Regions from separate parts of the Homo sapiens genome. Here region 1 is linked to region 2. Evidence: promoter capture Hi-C in 16 types of primary human blood cells and fetal thymus (Javierre and others, 2016). All regions are on one chromosome and are shown on one strand. The core of a region is centred on a gene start or on the middle of the fragment in contact, and the rest is flanking DNA. Distances in the headings are between cores, read along the strand shown.

Region 1 (2,705 bases), core at 185-2,684, 390 kb before region 2:
GAAGAAGAGAGATTTTGACTTTCTGTCTTCTATCGAGCTTCTCATCATTGATCAAGCTGACATTTACCTGATGCAGAACTGGGAGCATGTCCTGGTAATGCTGGCCATTCACATTCAGTGGGACAGTATTCATATTTAGAGGGATAAGACACCCAGTGGTTTAAGTCCTAAAGAATTATTTAAGTCCAGATTAGAACTCTTGTTTGGAAGCAAGGACACACACTCCACATTTTCTAATTTGAAAAAGTCTTTTGTCCCCTTTTCTACCCAGAGATTGTCCATAATTAAACTGTCTACAGATTAAAATTCCTGTCAGTCATTTTCAAATCTCCAGAAAAGATTTCTTTCCCTTAAAATTTCTTTCTACTAACTTTAGGGTGGGTGGATGGGTGGATGGGATAGGTTGATGGATGGATGGGTCCTCACCAGGAACATCTTTACCTAACATAATCCCACATGTGGTTTTTGCTTATGCTGTTTTGTTTGGTCTTTGGTGAAGATGGGAATACCCTGCTCAAGATTTTTTAAGGTGGGATCTTGTTTTGTAGAGAAATATAGGATGTCTTTATTACCCGATGTAATTTGTACTGTAATTTTTTTCTCCTTCTCCACACACTCTGCAGTGTTATCAGTTTTAGGACTGAAAAACTGCTTTGGAACAATCCTTATTTAGGAACTATAGGTTTATTTTTCTAAGGCATATGGGAACTCACCCCTTCTACAACCCCATGTCTTGAAGCTTGCAGGAAGTTTGGGACAAATGAAGGGTAGAACTTACTTCTAAAGTAGGAAATAAATTTATTGTACTCATTACCCTTCAATATCTATTACAAGGTAAAAATATAATTAAAATGGAAAAGGCATTTGGCATAGTCGAGTTATATTCTTAGATTTGAGGAAAAGACAGGGTGACACTGCAACTATTCCTAATGTTTTGAGAACCAGGTAATTGAGGGACAGCAGCTCTGTTTTCCATGGCATTTCCCTTCTTGTCCAAGTCTGGGACTTAGGGACCCATAGAGAGACCAGTGTGGCATTTCAGAAGTTCATTTTAAAGGAACATTCCTGTAGGTACCATTTTGATCATTTGTTAAAATTCCAGGAGGGCCAGTTTTAGCTTATCTCCTCATTGGGGATGTTTGGCTGACCATGGGCAAGTCACTCACCCATGTGAGCCTCAGTTTTCTTGTTATAATTTAGGAGATGATAGTACATGAGTTGATAGACTCGGAAAATGTTTAGCAATGTCCAACATGTAAATGCTCTCAGTCAACACTAATGGTAATATTATTTCCACTCAAAGCATTTGATGAATCACATGAACCTACTACCCCTGGACTCACATGGGGTAGACTTTTCTCGAGTGCGGATGTGGAGCCTCAATAATTGGTCCAAGTACTATCGCCAGACACTGCTATTTGGGGCCCTTCAGGATGCCCAGATCAACTCAGTGTTCAACAAGTACTGTGTCAACATGCAAGGCCAGGTGGGTTCTCGTCTTGTTTCCTCAGTATCTTCATGAGCACTGTTTATTGTTTGGGTCCTGAGGTAGAAGGAGGCGATAGCTTCTGGTCAAGAAGGGGATGGCTGTCCACCTAACGCTCTTGTTGACTACTGGCAGGTGGCCGTGAGGAATGTCCCAATGACAGGCTCTATCAGTCATGTCCTGGTGCAGCTCCCACATGTCTTCCAGAGGATGGAAGCTGAAAACCTAGCTTCAGTGATTGATGCCAGGTAACCCACTCCTCCCAGCAGGCCCCTGGGGACCACATAGAGAGATTTGACTTGGGCATACAAACCTAGAATTGGATTCCATTTTGCTTTTATTGATAACTACCAAATCAGTTGAGATAATTGAACTTAATTATGTCATTTGTCAGAGGAGGAAACTGAAGCACAGAGAGAAATAGTGACTTTGGCCTAGGTCTCATAACTAGTTAGTAGCAGGGTTATTACTATAAATCAGGACTCTTTCACTCTTGACTGTGGCATTTTAAAATTATACAGCTTTATGCTACAAAGTGTCTCATGTCAGCAAGTTAATTGTAAGCCCCTCAGGGAAAGAACTATTTTTCTAATTGTATAATTTCCCCCTTTTTCTTCATTGTGTTTAGTTAGGGGACCCCAAAGAAGCTTAGTGAGGCTTAGTATATGGTAGATGTTCAGTGATTATTTGTTGACTGTTGGACTGAGTGACTGAGTGACTGACTGACTGACTGAATAGTGTGGTGTGTACTTCCTAGAGTAATTCTCTGGGATATAATGGTATTACATCTGTTTTTTACAATGAATAGTGTTGACACTTATTTTTTTAGTGTGCTTATCAAGTTTTATCCTTACATAATCTCTTTGAGAGGAGGTAAATCATATTGGCCTCTGGGGAGGTAATCTTTTAACACGAGATTGTAATTTGCTCAGGGTCACACAGTTAAGAGACACCATAAGCTTAGCTCTAGACATTAATTTTGCCCTTTGCCATTCCAAATCAGGTTTAACTTTTTTGTGAACAAGATTTTGCCACAGTATCGTGATGCAGTCATGTCTCACACGCTCATCTATATCCCCTCCTACTTTGACTTCGTGCGTCTTCGAAATTACTTCAAGAAGGAGGAATTGAATTTTACCCACATCTGCGAGTACACGCAGAAGTCTGGTGTCTCCAGGGCCAGACACTTCTTCCTTCAAGGAGAGAAACAGTTTCTACT
Region 2 (2,923 bases), core at 23-2,522:
GGAAATTCACTTAACTGCATGTCAGTCACCCAAGTTTTAAGTGTACAAATGAAATGGAAAACATTTATTACACAAATTTAATTACAATTCTAAGAAATAAACATGCAAATTAGATAGAGTTCAATTTGCAGATGCTAATCCTCATCCTTGATCTTGTTCCTTCCTCCCTTGATTTTCAGTCTGTGCGTCTTCTTGATTCCTAGGGAGCCAGGCAGCCAGAGGTCTGGTTTTTCACAGTCGGAGGATCACTGTTTTAAAGAAGTGTTATATTTAGCACATCTGGTATAGTGGCAGTAAACAAACATTATAGTCTTTGTAACACTTTTGTGCAGGTGCCTTCTCCCGATTTTATTAGGTCTATGCCTTCCAAGCCTCTGCCTTCATTACACCTGAAATGACCCATCTCGACTATGGAGGGGTCCCTAGACAGAAGTTATGAATTAATGATTTTAAAAAATAAACTCTGAGGCCACTATAGGAGAAAATTACTATTTGCAAAATATTCTGATTCCAAGGCTTAAATTACATTCTCTTGAGCAAGGACAATCTCTTGTATTACTTTTTATTTCCTGGAGGTTTTCCCTGGAGGCTCCCCACCCAGAAAGGGTTGCCAATTCAAGTTGCAGCAGGACCAAGGTTGCTTTTTTTTTTTTTTTTAATACGTACGCAGCTCAGGAGGGAAACGGGCGGGGGCGGGCGGCGAGGGAGAATAACTGTTTGGTCCTGCAAAGACATCTGTTTCTCATCTCCGTTTGCTGTGGCAAAGGAGAAGAAAGTCTTTTGCAAAGGGTGGGAAAGGCACAGATTTTTTTTTTAATCACACGCACACACAACAACAACAAAACTAAACCAAATTTAAAAAGACAAGATATCTCGGAAGGTTCCAGAGTGAATACATTATTCGGCTGGAGCCAAGCCCCCAGGGCTAGGGCGGGAGCCCGAGAGCGCGTGGGGTCTGGGCTGCGGGCTGGAGCTGGGCCCGCGTGTCCCCGGGCACCGGGAGGGGAGGGGAGGAAAAGGAGGAGGGAGGGCGGGAAGCAGGGAAGGAGGCAGGGGGCGGGCTGGGGTGGGGGTGCGGGAAAGGCGCCCCGTGTGCAGCCTGAGGAGCGGCGGCGGCGGCCTGAGCAGAGGGAGGGAGGGAGAGCGGGCGCGCTTGTCATGTTCCCTCTCTCACCCTGGGGGCATCCTGCAGAACCTCTCCTCGGAAATCCACGGGGAAATGGCAAACAGGATTGACGGGTTTCACACGCTCCTCGCTAGACAGAGCCGCTCATTACCATAACCGTCTGCAGCGACGGCGGCGCAGCGCCCCAGTCGCGGCGGCGGGACCTGCCGGGACCCTTGCCCGCCGCGCACCCGCAGTCACCGCCGAGCGGGCGGCCGGGCCGGGACCCGCGAGTGTGCACCGGCGGCCGGGCTGGCGCCGAGCCCAGAGCGGACCAGCAGCAGCTCAAGCGCTGCGGCCGCCGCCTCCCCGCTGACCCCGCGGTAAGAGCCGGGCTGGGCGCGGGCCGCGGGGGCGGGAGGGCCGGGCAGGGTGGAGGGCGAGGGCCCCCCGGGGCTCCTGCCCTCGCAGACGGGCACCCACGCGGCCTCCCGCGCGCCCTCTTGGCACCAGGGCTGTGCCGAGGTCACCGAGTGGACTCGCAGCGGCCGGAGCGGAGTCGGGGCGGCGTGGGGGCCAAGGCACAGCTGGGCGCGGAGGCGGCGCGGGCTTTTCCCTGGGCTAGCGTGCGCCGCGGCGCCTTCACCAGGGCGGGAACCGCCGCCTCCTCTAGGGCTGCTCGGGCTGCCACCCGCGCGCACCGAGACAACTCCAGGGGCGGGTGGGGTCAGAAGCTCTGGTGAGACCTCATGGTCCTCCGTGGCCGCTTAGTCCCTCATCGTAGGGGAAGGGGTTAAGTAGGAGGGGTGCCCCCAGGTCCGGATGCCGCGGCGCTTGGCAGGTGGGGAGAGAGGGATTGTGGATGTCAGGAGCGCGCGTTTGCAAGAAAAAGGAATTGATGCAGTAGCTGACACCTTCTGTCCCCCGCCACCTCCGCCCCCGCACCCTCCTCCCAGGCAGCAGAGCTGCGCTGCGGGCGGCGGCGGCTCCTCTGTCCTCAGCTCACCTCCTCGGCGGGCTGAGGCTGCTGCCCGCCTGGTCCACGCCTCCGCCTCTCGCTTCCCTTCCTCCCCTCCCGCCTCTTCGGCCCTAGCAACTTTCCGAGTGCCCAGCTGTGGTCGCAGAAGCAGGGAATAGGCGTCCTCGCCGCCAGGTCCCACGGGCGCAGGGCGCTCCCGCAACCGCGGGCTTCCAGCGGGTTTGGCCGGCAAGGGAGGGAGGGAAGGCCGGGCCGACATCTGCTGCGGGCTGGAGCGCGGGGGCCCGGGCCAGCCCCGCCAGAGCCCTGCCAGCCGCTGTGAGTCATTTCCTTGGAATCCTACCTTTGGTGTTTATTTCCCTTAGAAGGAAACTTGGTTTTTTTTTTAAAAAAAAAAAAGGATAAGACATAAAGAATAATAATAGCTCTTATTCTTCAGAAGAGGCACACGGCTGCGGCACCGTAGAAAGACAACTTGCCTTTGTTCCCGGACACTTGGGGTGTTGTTTACTTTCTCCTGCGGCCAGCGGCCGACCGGGCGCTGCTGGCTACCCGGGGAGGGGCTGAGGGCTGCGGCACCGACACCCCGGGGGTGTGTCTGTGCGGGAGCCAGGATGTGGTTGGTGGCTGCCGCCCGCCTTCAAGAGGTCGGCCCTCCAAACCTCGGACCCCACCCCCGCAACCGCCACACACACACACACCTTGGGCACCAGGGCTCGGGCATCGGAGCACCCCTTCGTGCTCTTTAGGCCCAGCACCTGCAGCCCCAACCACAGGACCCAGCTTCAAGCTCTTGGCCTCGCGGGGCTGCAGCTGAGAAATGTACTTCCCAGGGCAGA

The links. Contacts are between HindIII fragments. The CHiCAGO score rates a contact against its expected background, and 5 or more counts as called.
Region 1: a fragment that was not itself captured here is called in contact with the fragment with the promoter of SERTAD4 in region 2 in 1 of 17 cell types (endothelial precursors); the score reaches 5.3 in endothelial precursors.

Annotation. Positions count from the first base shown.
Region 1 is chr1:209,840,962-209,843,666 of GRCh38, forward strand. UTP25 (UTP25 small subunit processome component) reads left to right here. Exons shown (of 12, transcript NM_014388.7): 8 at 1-94; 9 at 1,304-1,486; 10 at 1,622-1,734; 11 at 2,490-2,705. Among named protein-coding and RNA genes, the nearest start is that of UTP25, 14 kb to the left of the region's middle. The HindIII fragment of the contact is 1,394 bases long and covers 738-2,131 here.
Region 2 is chr1:210,231,524-210,234,446 of GRCh38, forward strand. SERTAD4 (SERTA domain containing 4) reads left to right here and starts at 1,273. Exons shown (of 4, transcript NM_019605.5): 1 at 1,273-1,488. It overlaps SERTAD4-AS1 (SERTAD4 antisense RNA 1), which reads right to left and starts at 2,362. Exons shown (of 2, transcript NR_024337.2): 1 at 2,112-2,362; 2 at 1-248. RefSeq lists an enhancer at 1,151-1,684. The HindIII fragment of the contact is 4,360 bases long and covers 1-2,923 here.